Regions from separate parts of the Homo sapiens genome. Here region 2 is linked to region 1. The links are contacts of gene promoters, found by promoter capture Hi-C in human tissues and cell types (Jung and others, 2019). All regions are on one chromosome and are shown on one strand. The core of a region is centred on a gene start or on the middle of the fragment in contact, and the rest is flanking DNA. Distances in the headings are between cores, read along the strand shown.

The links. Contacts are between HindIII fragments. The study calls those that stand out against the background at their distance.
Region 2: a contact is called between a fragment that was not itself captured here and the fragment with the promoter of C1orf21 in region 1, in 2 of the 25 tissues and cell types used here (psoas muscle and spleen).

Annotation. Positions count from the first base shown.
Region 1 is chr1:184,382,669-184,389,451 of GRCh38, reverse strand. It overlaps C1orf21 (chromosome 1 open reading frame 21), which reads right to left and starts at 2,423. Exons shown (of 6, transcript NM_030806.4): 1 at 2,084-2,423. It overlaps C1orf21-DT (C1orf21 divergent transcript), which reads left to right and starts at 2,748. Exons shown (of 1, transcript NR_172919.1): 1 at 2,748-3,699. RefSeq lists silencers at 2,388-2,647, 2,678-2,787, 2,878-2,937. The HindIII fragment of the contact is 5,612 bases long and covers 1-5,046 here.
Region 2 is chr1:184,448,955-184,455,737 of GRCh38, reverse strand. All of the region lies in intron 1 of C1orf21 (chromosome 1 open reading frame 21), which reads right to left. Among named protein-coding and RNA genes, the nearest start is that of C1orf21, 65 kb to the right of the region's middle. The HindIII fragment of the contact is 4,324 bases long and covers 237-4,560 here.

The sequences.
Region 1 (6,783 bases), core at 1,174-3,673:
AGCCAAGAAAACAAAATTATCAGTTTTCTAAACTCGGAGTTAAATTAAGTCAACCCTGAGAAGGAAAGCTGGAACTTTAAGGTCCTTCTAGGATGAACTTTTAACACTGGAGGATGTGAGACCTCTCTACCACCCAAGGCCATTTTTCTTTGGAAACATGCCCAGTTGTGACAAAGCTAGACAACAGAAGCACCCCGCCCCTCCTCAGGCACCCACCCACCCAAGAGCTGAGCGCACTGGTCTTTGTTGCCCTTTTTAGAAGCCTCCAGGACTGTTCTCTGAAGCAGGTTTGCACAGCAGTAAACATTGAGTGACATCCTCTTTCAACGCTGCATTTGTGATCTGTGAAGTACCAGTCCCAGCATTGGTTTAACGCCTATAAATACACTCCGTTGTCCTATCACTGGTACTTCCTACTTTGTAAGTAGCAAAACAAAAATAGGTGATCCAATCCAAATTAATTTCCATGTCTGACAATTACATTTCCAAACAGCCAACATGGAACATGTTCTATTGATCCTACAATCCAGCTCTAGACAATATGAAAAAGGGGGGAAAACTCCAAATTCAGCATCTTGAACTTAAAAGACCCTTCAGAAACATCACCTTCTCCCCACAACAGTGCTGAAGTAGCTCAGGCCCACTCCACCTATGTTTGTTTCTATCCTGGTACATTCCAATTCTATCAAATCAAAAGGTTATTCCTATTAGGCAGAAGCTGAACCCATCCCCTTGAATAGGGAGGTGTTCATTACATCTGTCTGTGTAATGAACTTGTCATTTCCCCAAACGGTCTGGACAGTCTCCTACAAAAAAAAAAAAGAAAAGAAAGAAAAAAATACTCCATGGAATCTATGGTGTGTCAGTCCCCTTCCTAACATCTGAGTCAGACTACGTGTGTCTTTACTGAGGTTCTGGGTGCCCAGGGTGTATCACTTTCAGAATTGCTTCAGTAACTGAACTATGGCTGTCTTCCAGCCACGGACAACACAAGCACTATCTATTTTAAAACAATTTTCCTAACCCACCGGCAATGGAAGAGATCCCATAGGTCACCGACTTCCTATTGAAAACAAATTATTTCTCTCTCAAACTGCTTGCCGTCTCTCAGAATTAATGCGTGTTTATGTGTGCATATTTTTATCTTTGGCCATGCAACTCTTGGAGCAAAGAGGACCACCCCAAATTTTACCGACATGCCTGAGCCATTCAGAGCTTTAGAAGAGAAATGAACGAGTGCTGAGAGCCCTTAAGCCCAGGACTTCTCTCACACAAACAGTAAGTGGAAAGGAAAAAACAAAAACAAAAACAAAAACTAACCCTCCGTAGAGGGAGGGAGCAGGGTGGATGATAGGGAAAGGACATTAACCAGCAGACCAAAGGCAGCCGCGGCGGCGGCACTTCGCGAACTGCCTGCAGAGGAGAGTGAAATCTGTTTCGTGTACAATAACCAAGCACCCTCTGGCTGCCTCGCATGGGCACGAATAATAAATACACCGAGGTGGGCAAACAGATGCAACGAAACGAGCCACCCCAAAAAGGTCAAAACTTCAGAAATCCCGGGGGTCAAACCACCCACACAAACACATCAATCAGTCGGAGCGAGAGAAGGGACTTGGATACTTAGCAAAGGATCCTAAATTGTGTTTTTCCTTTCAAGCTCTGGCTTGCAAAGTACGGTGGCTACATGCAAAGCTAGAGGAGAGCAGGAAGGCTGAGGGCGGCAGGGTGCGGGTGGGAAGGGAGGGGTGTCTAACACCAGCCACCCAGGCCTCGATGTGACGAAAGTCGTCAGCAGCCCCGACCACATCCCAGCCCCTCCGCCCAGGCCGGCAGACGCCCCTCGCGGCTCCCCCACCCCAGCTTCCGTCCCTGGCAGCAACCCCGCCAGCCCCGCACCAGCAGCAGCCCCGGCCCGGGCCCCGCGCAGGCAGCGCCACGACCGCGGCTCCCATCCCTTCCGTGCGGCAGACACCCCGCAGGCCTCCCTCCCTGCCCACCCGGGGATGCCCGGGTAGCCGAGCCGGGGCGGGCTGCACCGCCAGCTCCCCCCGCCCCAGAGCAGGCAATGGCTCACACTTACCTTGGGCGTTCGCGGGGGGGCTGAAGGTGGCAAGCCTCCCGCCCCCCGCCCCTGTCCTCCTCGTCTTTTTTCTTCCTCCCTCCTCCTCTTCTTCCTCCTCCTCCCCACAGTGTGTCCGGGGCTCCCCCTCCTCCCCGCCGCTTGGAGTAAGAACCCAAAACCCCGAAGCCGGGCCCGCGTGCAAGCGTGCGGGAGGCGGCGGCGCGCGGCCAGCTCTCCAGTAACTGAGCGCGGCGCGCAGCTCCCAACTAAAGTGTGAAAGAAGCAGCGGCCGCGGCGGCCGCGGCACGGAACGTCCCCCCGGGAGTGGGCAGGGAGCGAGCGGGAGCTTGCGAGGAGCGAGCGAGGGAGGGGAGCTCCTCGCTCAGTCACTCACTCGAGGGGCGGGGGCAGCAGACACTCCCCCACCGCCGGCCCCTCCCCGAGCCTAGCTCCCGCGCGCGCCTGGCTCTCCTCCCCGGGGCGGGGCCTGCGGAGGCCGCCGGGGCGCAGCGCGCTGGGGAGCGGGTTGGGGGCTGCTAGGGCTGCGGGGCGGGAAGGAGGCGGCAGTGTGTGTGTGTGTGTGTGTGTGTGTGTGTGGGCAGGTGTGTGTGTGTGTGTACGTGTGTGCGCGCGCGCCCTGCAGCGGCCGGCCAGCCGGAGGGAAGACCCCGGCGGGAAGACTGCGTCCCGTCCGGCCTTCCCGGGCCTGTCACTTGGGCGGTGGCGTGGGAGCGGCGAGGCTGCTCGGGGGGCAGCCGGGTGGGCCCAGCTCTAGGGGAGATTCGGGTCAGCCCCTGAGCCCAGCCTCCCGGCTGTGCCTGCTGGAAGCAGACGGAGGGAAGGCCGGGCGTCTTTGGCCCACCGCGCGGCCGCTCCCCTCCCGGGCCAGGCTGAACGGGCGGGCGCAGCCCAGAGGCCCGGGCTCTGCCACCGATCCGCCTCCATACTGACCCGAGCTGCGGCGCCTGCAAGATTAATGAAGCATCCGCGATTCGGTAGAGGCGGCACGGGGAGGAAAGACACAAGATCGTGCTGCCCCCCTCTCCCCACCCTTCTCAGCCTCCTAGGACCTAAAGGCGTAGGCTGCGTCTGCTGGGCGCGTCCGGAGTGGTCCAGAGAGATCGCCATCCACCACTGCATCCGTCCAGTTCTTTGTGGACCCTCACAGAAGCTCAATCAATTTCCCACCCTCTGGAAAAGGGTATTTTTCTCTTCCCTGGCATATTGGGTGTTTCTTGTGTGCACCTAATTGATCTTTTTCCATTGATAGCCTTTGGATGTCTTTTGTGCGGCTTCCCCGCGCTTCACTGCTCCCTCATTGCCTTAGACACGCGAGGAATGTCAGGCCCCCAGAGTGAGAACACCCAAGAAAACAATAGGGGCAAAAGATCCTCCCTGGGCCTCGCGGATTATGCACAAACCAGATCATTTCCCACATTCGGCCAGGGTGAAGATGGAAAATGGAAAAGAACGCCATCAGAGTGGTGACACTGACGAGAAAAGCCAATTCATAATTTAGTTTAATGAAATGAGTTAGTAATCAACCACTAATGTCTAGGAAATTGGCCTTTTTTGAAAACTGGTTTTCCCTTTCTCCACCCCTTTTTTTTTCAAATTAAAAGACTAGTATCCCACTGTTGTTGTTTTAATTTTTATTGTTTTCAGGGATGGGGTCTGCTGCCAAGGCTGGATTCGAACTCCTGAACCCAAGAGATCCTCCTCAAGGGATCTTCCCCATCTCAGCCTCCCAAGTAGCTGGGACTACAGGCCAATTCCACCGCACCCTGCCTAACATCACATTGTTCAGGAACCTCAACTTACATTCCATTTTTACAAAATATCCATATTCTGGTTCATACTTCTTGGAGCCCAAATTTTTTGTAGTCTAGCCTCTTGGAAAGGAGCGGTTAAGAAGGGAGGGTAGATAAATTGAGATTTCAATCAGGGGCAGCCAGCCCCATCCCTTTCACCACTGGTGACTTGTTTCATTTCTTCTTTCTTTCCTCATCTGTAAAGGCATTGATAATGATCGTTCCTACCTCATAAGCTTGTGAAAGTAAAAAGAAAATAAAACGAGGTGGCAATGCATGTAAAACACTTTGCATAGTGCCTGACACATGGGTGAGAACTCAATAAATAGAAGCTATTGTTTCAGACTTGATTATTTTAAACTCAAATTTGGTAGAATTTTATTCTCTTTCCATTCCTTCTGAAAAGTTAGGGAGGAGAATGGACACAGCTGATGGATTTATTCAAATGTAGTCCACTCTTCCCTTGGGTTTTTACGCCCTGCCTGAAACTTTTGCCTGTGGTAAAATGAAATAAATACATAACTGAGGGGTGTGTGTGTGTGTGTGTGTGTGTGTGTGTGTGTGTGTGTACATCCATATAAAAGGATCTTTGAGCACAATAAGTTTTGTTCTTCCCCCTCCTTTTTCCTTCTCTCATCTACATAGACCACCCTGAATAGACAGAGCTCTGTGATGTTGACCTGTGTACCCCTTCAGGGCTCAGACAGTGCTTGGTACTGTAGATTTCTTGAGGGCAAGGCTATGGGGTTTGCTTGGCTTGATATCCTTAGAACTAACCGAAGGCCACAGAAGAAGCACTTCATACATGTGTAGATGAAAGAACATCTATACTACGAACTTTTAAAGCTAGGTTTAGATTACTCAAGATAATACAGGTCCATTGTGGAAATTTTCAACATTTGAAAAAAGCTAAGTACAAAGAAAATGAAAATCATAATTCCACCATCTAGAGAAAAGCATTCAATAAGTGCCTCAAGTTTGTCTGTTTTCCCTTCATTTATTTCATCATCATTCAATCAACAAACATTTATTAAGTACCTAGTTAGAGATCAGACAATTTACCAATACAAGAAAAGATTGTATATGTGTTGTAAGTGTTGTTTGTTTCTCATAGAAACTGCTCCACAGAAGCAACATTTTATACAGTAGTAAGGTTCTCAGGATAGCCTACAAAAGCCCATGGAAGGAATCCCACAATTAAATGACCATGCTGACCAGAGACAATCCAGATTTTGTGGGACTTGAAGCACTTAAAATTTGGGGAGCCACCTTCAAGATTAAAAAAGACAAAAGTACTAAAACCCCTTAGGAGAGGCTAATGTAAATGAAGGTCGTGAAACAATTTGGGGAGCTACCTTCAATGTAAGAAAGACAAAAGTACAAAAACCCCTTGATTGGGCTCATGTAAATGAAGGTCTAAGCCCCATTTGCTTTTGAGTAAACCTACTCTCTCTGGTGCTGGAATTTCTATAGAAATTAACTGCTTTGATAAACATTGCTTCAATGTGAAATGTTCCTCATTTTACCTGGGATCCCCGGGACACCTCTGCTCCCCTCCCCCACAAATTTAGAAGAGGTGAGAGGGAGACTCCCATCACCACCAACACACACTTCCCTGCACCTGGCCACAGCAGGGGCAGTGGGACTGGGGACTTCTATAGGGGCTGCAGAAGGAAAGGAGGGAGAGAAGAACAAAATGGGAGGGGAGGGGACAGACAGGTTGGCCACTAAGGTGCTGGAGAGGCACATCGGGCATTGGTATGCACACCAACTCACTAACTGTGCAACAGGAGTGGCCACAAATTGCAAATCTGCTTGGTGTGCACAAGCTAAATCTACTAGACATTTTATCACAGAATAATCTCTGTAGCTATTTATAATTAGTAAGATGACTATAAGCATATTTACATAAAAAGAATGAAGAACATGATTTTTTTCCCCCTGGTTGCATCACCCTTCCACACCACCAGAATCTCTGGATTCCATATCTTCAAACACTCTAAATATGATTTTCCAAAAATTTAATATTCTTTTTGCCCAGAAAAGTTACATTTTAATCTTCAAAGGCACCACTCTCATTATCAATTTTCTCTTAGTCCTAAAGCTTTAGCTGATAAAGACTTGCATCTGTAGGACTGTACATAACATAATGGTTTGAATTATTTCTTTCTTCTTTTTCTTTTAAATATGATATGCCCTTCCATGGGCTTTTGTAGGCCAAACTGAATGTTTGAAGCCCTAACCCTCAATGTGTTGGTATTAGAATGTGAGGTCTTTAGGAGGCAATTGGAGTTTGACAATTTGAGAGTGGGGTCCTCATGATAGGATTAGTGCATTGATAAGAAAAGCCAGACAGCTTGTTCCCTCCCACCCGCATATGAGAACACAGCAAGAAGACAGCCATCTAAGCCAGGAAGAGGGGTTCTACCAAGAACCTGAGCAGGCTGGCATCACGATCTTGGACTTTAAGCCTCCAGACCTGTGAGAAATGAATATCTTTTGTTTAAACCGTGCAGTCTATGGTGTTTCGTTACAGCAGCCTGAACCCACCAAGACAATAGGTTCCCTTTATCATTGATTGTCAAGGAAAATATATGATTGTTTAAAAGATAGTAAAAGCAACACACCACTCTCCTATAACTTCTCATCTAAATCTAAATGAATTCATTTTATGTGGTTTATTTTTTAAAGGTTTTCCCATAAAGTTAATTTTTCTGAATAATCAAGTTCAAAAGTAGCTTTGGCAGAGACATTCAAAAATAAGTGACCCTAAGCTGAAGACTACTCTGAAATGTGCTTTCTTTCCATTTGCTCCATGCAATCACAGCTAACACTGGTTGTCTGCTGTATGTCAAGCATGGCATCATGTAATTCATAATACAAACTAACTCATCTTCCTGACAACAC
Region 2 (6,783 bases), core at 1,149-3,648, 66 kb before region 1:
ATTCAGGCCCTGGTAGTGCCAGGAGCCATTCTAGATGCTGGAGCTATGATGGGAACAAGGAATGAAGTTTTCAGTGGTTATCTGAAAGGTTATTTGAAATATCTTAATATTAGCAATCCTAGAAAGGTAATCATTGATGGCAGTATTTTCACGCTGTCCCCAAAGGGAAAAAACACCTGTAAGGGAGAATTAGAAAAGGAGAGTCCCTGATTTGGGGATGGGAGGAGATTGGATGTCTCTCAGCTACTTTCTAAGACTTTGTTTCTCAAAGTGTAACCTAGGGACCAACAGGACTGGGATACACCTAGGATCTTTTTAGGAATGCAGAATCTCAGCCCTAGCCCAGACCACAGAATCTGCAATTCTAAGAAGATCCCAAGTGATCCCTAGTTATTTGTATGCACACTGAAGTTTCAGAAATGTTGCTCTGATAGGTTTTATTTACAAGTTTAAACACAGGTCACCTTACATTTGTGGCAGAATCAGACCTGTAAGGCTCCTTCTGACTTTTAAGAGACTCAGGCTTTGAGAACTTGTTTTTGATAGTTGGAACAGCAAAACAGCACTGCAACGTGAGTCCACACATGGGCCTGAGTATGCTTATACCATTTCTGAATGGCCCAAAGTGTTTATTCACTTTGGACAGAACTGATCAGAAATGCAGATTCACTGAGCCTGAGACAAATACATAATTGATTGTCCCCCCTGCCCCCTTCTTTTCACATGCAACATGTGGATTCAATGAACTCTAGTCAAAGACTCACAAGAATGTGACCTTGCCCTCTTTCTTTCTCTTTTCTCTTACAGCCTGCTTTTCCTCCTTTAAATACTTGTATTAATCCATTCTCTATTATATATATATCTATATAGCACTGCTATAAAGAAACACCTGAGACTGGGTAATTTATAAAGAAAAGAGGTTGAATTGGCTCACAGTTCCACAGGCTGCACAGGAAGCATGATGCTAGCACATGCCCACCTTCTAGGGAGGCCTCAGGAAGCTTACAACTATGGTAGATGGCAAAGGGGGAGTCAGCATGTCCTAGAAGGCAGGAACAGGAGCAAGAGAGAGGGGAGGTGCCATATAGATTTAAACAACCAGATCTCGTGAGAACTCTACCACGAGAACGGCACCAGGGGATGGTGCTAAAACATTCATGGAAATCCACCCCCATGATCCAATCACCTCCTGCCAGGCCCCACCTCCAACATCAGGGACCACAGTTTGACATGAGATTTGGTGGGGACACAGAACCAAACCATATCAATATTGAAGACCTCAAAATCCTCTTTGGAAAAAGTACAGGCCACAGGTCCTACTGTGGCTTATGTCCCTTTAGCCCAGGCATCTCCTCAACTTTGGCAAAATAAACCTCTAAATTCATTAAGACTCACCTCAGTCATTTTCTTTGGTTTCAAGGTATCTTTAATTATAATTACTGATTCTATTTACATATACCTTGATAAGCGATTATCCATACAAAATAACAAGTTCCTATTCTACTCAACCATATCATACTGAAAAATATAAAATATAGCAAAACTTGAAATATTGCTATCCTTTCCTTTGATTCTCAGTTTCAGTAACTGGATAAGGATTAAGTTTTAAACATACAAAGTTGCTTCTCCAAAAGTAAACAAAAGAAATCCATTGACTCTAAGTATTTGTTAGTGTTTTCCTCATGGATCTGATGCCAGTGATGTCTTCAGCACAAAGCACTCAGGGTCCCTACACAATTCCCATTAACCTTCTGCCCATATAATGCTTTGTTTCTTGCTTTCAATTTTAGAAATAAATTTCAATCAATCTCTCCAACAGCTGGAAAGAAAGAGTAAATATAATCTCTCTTCTCTTTCAGAGTTCGTTTTTGAAACTATAATTCAAAAGCACATTCTGGGCAAAGTAGGGACAGTAGCTTCATTCAATCTTATATGCTAACTCAAGTAGACAAAGGCTGTGAAATATCTGTCCCTCACTGTCCCTTCACCTCTGAGGTTTCACACATAAAAGCTAACAGCTATTTCTTGAAGAACAAGTCAAACACAGCAGCTATAAACAAATAACCTAATAAAAAAAAAGTTTTGGTCTAGATATCTTCAGAGATTACAAACTAAAATAGGTGGCAGTATCAAGCAAAGTCAAGGCTTCAGAACAGAAGAGAGGATATTAACATCAGTATATTCAGCAAACTAATAAAAAGACAAAACATTAAAACGCAGATCAATGTTTACATTGAGTAGCTTCCTTTAGGAAAATGAAACATTCGTTTCCTGAGAAAGGCAGCACTAGCAAAAATGTGTCACTAAATTGTATATTCGTCAGTACTTCAAACTAAAATTTTATGAAAAGCACAGAAAGAGTTGTAAAGCAAAAGCAGAACCGTCAGAACCGTCAGAAGCACTGCTTTCTGTTCAACCTGTACCTGGGGCAATGCTGCATTTACCTGGGACCGCAAGGATGCAAATATCTGAAGGCAAAGTCAGCTAGTTAATATTGCATTCTCCCTTCCACTCAGAGAATCTCTGCAGAAGGAAATGGGGTTCAGTTCTTTAAAATAAGCTTGGCTAGAGCACAACTCTGGCTTCCTCTCCCCAAAGTGATGTGGGCTGTAGTATGCATCACTTAGAGGCATTTCATGGTGCGCTTCCCAGCTCGAAGGTCTTCCTAGAAAGATCTGGTCAGTTTACTGTTTAGGAGGGAAATGTCCCTAGCTGAATTCAGACCAATTGCCTCTGGAACACATCAATCCTTTCAATGAAAGGCTTTATGCTTCTTTCTGACTCAAAGTTTTCTCCTCATGATACCAGGGACAACTTTTAAGGCATAAACAATAGAGATGAAACAAAGCTACTAAAATTTTTAAAAACCTTAAAAATCTCTCATCAAACAGAGCCGGTCATATTAAAACAAGAAAGACAGAGAGAGCTCAAGAGGGGACAGGCAAAGAGAATTAACAAGGAAGATACTGATTTTGCTCCTACCCTGTATAACCTGAACAATTACAACAATTTTGTGTAATACCACGAATATAAAGAGATTCATGGAACTTCTTTGTATTATTTATCTATAAAAAGATCAATCAAAGTTTGTTCTGAGCCATTGACCACACAGATGTACTGTGAACAAGTACAAATTGTGGCCCTCCTACATGCAAACAATCAACGTGGTGGTTACGCCCTCTTCTTGCCACTTTGCCTCATGTTACATGGGACAAATATGACCTTATTTCATAAGCAGAAAAACAAAGAGCTCACTTCTGGTGCAATCTTTAATTCTGCTGTTTCTGACAAATACAACAGCATCCAGTTACCCACCTCCAACTTGTGACCCTACCTATAAGATATGACGTGATTCTCCCTTTGGACTGACAAAGAATTGTTCTCACACTCACACCTGCAATGAAGAGAAATTGTGCTTTGCACTCAGCCTGTGGGGACTCTAGAAACCAAACTCTTTATAAAAGAAATAAGCCCTTCATAGGAGACATGGTGGCCATACCATCATCTTTCATTGCTCTCCTGCCAATCAAACCTTCTATCTTATAAACAATAAATAAGCTCTCCACCAAAAGCTTCTTGTGACATTCTCATTAGGAATACTTCTACATTGCACATGGACATGTCTAGGAGTTTGGAAAGCATTCCACACTACTAAGAAGGAAATTTCATTTAAGGAGGCGGCTTTGGCTTGGACTTGTGATTTCAATGTCACAAAATTTTTTGCCTTCCAGGGAAAGCAAAGGATTAATTGGGGACTGAGGAGTGCTTTTATTCATTTCCAACAACAAACTAACACTAACATTTATTTTTAAAAACAAAATTATTTATAAAGGATATAATCACTCAATGGAGCATTTGCTCATTAAGTTTATAAACACGGAAAACTTGAGCTTTCAGATGCTTGTAATTTGCTAATGCCCTTTTCGTGAACTTGGAGCACAAGAGGCCTACAATGTGCAATATGCTCATTTGGGAGAAAATTTTGCTGTTAGCTTTTAACTCATTTGTTTTTGAGCATTCCAGGCAACCATGCCTAAGTCTTTAGAGAAACGTGTCTGTGTGTAGAATTCTTCAGGACTACAAAACACACTATTACAACTTGAAGGACAGACTGAGATTAGAAAAATGTTCCAGATTGGGCCTGGTAGCTCATGCTTGTAATCCCAACATTCTGAGAGTCCGAGATGGGAGGATCACTTGAGGCCAGGAGTTCGAGACAAGCCTGGGCAACACAGTGAGACCCTGTCTCTCCAAAAAAAAAAAAAAAAAAAAAAATTAAATTAGCCAGGCATGATGGTGTATGCCTACAGTCCCAGCTACCTGAGAACCTGAGGTAGGAGGGTTACTTGAGCCCAGGAGGTCGGGGCTTCAGTGAGCTATGATCGTGCCGTTGCACTCCAGTCTGGGAGATGGAGTGAGACCTTGTCCCGAAAAAATAAAACAAAAACAAAAAAATGTTCCAAAGTTGGGTAAAAATATAAAATGGTTAAAAGAACAGACATGGCAATTATTTTTATATGGTCCATTTAAAAAAATCATAGGCTTAAAAAGCAATTTTTAGCCCAGGCATGGCAGTTCACACCTGTAATCCCAGCAGTTTGGGAGGCCGAGGCAGACGGATCACCTGAGGTCAGGAGTTCAAGACCAGCCTGGCCAACATGGCGAAATGCCGTCTCTACTAAAAATACAAAAATTAGCTGGGCGTGATGGCATGTGCCTGTAATCTCAGCTACGCAGGAGGCTAAGGTTGGAGAATCGCTTGAACCCAGGAGGCAGAAGTTGCAGTGAGCTGAGATTGCGCCACTGCACTCCAGCCTGGGCGATAGAGGAAGATTCTGTCAGGAAAACAAACAAACAAACAAACAAAAACACACAATTTTTATACTGTTGGTGAATTCAGAGGTCACATGAAACTTTTTTCTCCATCATCATTTCTGATTTTAAAGAATAAAATAAGTCATTAATAAGAACAAAAATAGGTTAGGTTCTCTCTTGTCCTTTATAAAGCCTTTCAGCCACATAAATTTAATTAAGTATAATATTGATATGGACATGGCAGAAGACAGGAAAGTTAAAGCAAAAGAGGCAATTTGGCTATATGTTTATTTTGATAAACTTTATCTGGCTATGCATGTATATATGTGCGTCTGTGTGTGTGTTGTGTACGCTTTTGTGAATGCCAAAACCTACAAGGTTGGTATCTCACTAGGAGTATTACCTCTGCTACCTGTCATCATAAAGCTCACAGATTTCTCATTCTTCCTATTAAAAGCATTGTTGACATTCATTAAAATGCATACAGTATTGAGCAGATAGCTTATTCTATCATGAGTGGCCCTCCCTGATTTAGTGCTACAGCTGGTCAGGCACCCATCAAGGGTGCCTCTGATTGGGGCGAGGGGAGTCCAGAAAAAGACAGTGACTGGAGCACTGTCTGGAGGGGCACCAGGTTCACAGGGCTCCTGAGAAGCCTGCATTCAGTGTGGTGGCGTGCTCTCCACCTCCCTGACATGGAGAATCCCATAAGAGGTGCTTCTCTGATTGAAGCTTGAGTAACAAGCCCTTCATGCAAGCACTCTACAAGGTGACCCCACACCTTCCCTCCATGACTGTATCAGGCATCCACCTACAACCTCACTGTCCTGCCTTCTAAGCAACTGACTCATAACACCTGGAATTGAAGACACCACACGCCCCAATCTTACCATAAAAATACCTCCCTCCGTCTTGTGTTCTGTCTGTTACCCATAACCTGCACATCAGGAAGGAGACTTTTCTGTGATTTACAACATCCAATGCGAGCCTTCCTTTCCTAATTTCAGAACTAATAAAGCCAAGCACATCCTGCCTTCTCCCTGAACCTGGCGTGGTGTTACCAAACACTGAAGGAAAGTGATATGGAGATACATGATCACACAACTGGACACAAACTCACAGTTGCTAATCCATAGCTTATAAATATATTACACATAGGGATCTTAATTTTGACTGGTACTGTATGTATCATGTTGAGATACATACAAGACTTTTCCAACTAAAACCGTTCTTGGAAGACTTAAATTATATTTCCTGGAAAATGGGTCCACTATCAATAATTTAGCTCAGTGGTTCCTGAGTATTAAGAAATCTAGTTAAGAACTAGAAATACCATTTGACCCAGCCATCCCATTACTGGGTATATACCCAAAGGATTATAAATCATGCTGCTATAAAGACACATGCACATATATGTTTATTGCGGCACTATTCACAATAGCAAAGACTTGGAACCAACCCAAATGTTCAACAATGATAGGCTGGATTAAGAAAATGTGGCACATATACACCATGGAATACTATGCAGCCATAAAAAATGATGAGTTCATGTCCTTTGTAGGGACATGGATGAAGCTGGAAACCATCATTCTCAGCAAACTATCGCAAGGACAAAAAGCCAAACATCCCATGTTGTCACTCATAGGTGGGAACTGAACAATGAGAACACATGGACACAGGAAGGGGGACATCACACACCGGGGCCTGTTGTAGGGTGGGGGGAAGGGGGAGGGATAGCATTAGGAGATACACCTAATGTAAATGACGAGTTAATGGGTGCAGCACACCAACATGGCACATGTATACATATGTAACAAACCTGCACATTGTGCACATGTACACTAGAACTTAAAGTATAATAATAATAATAAAAGAAATCTAGTTAAATTTGATTTTCATTGTTAAAATACTAAAAAATAAATTAAAAATTAAGTTTCGTCACCTTAATTCATTTAAAAATACATATAT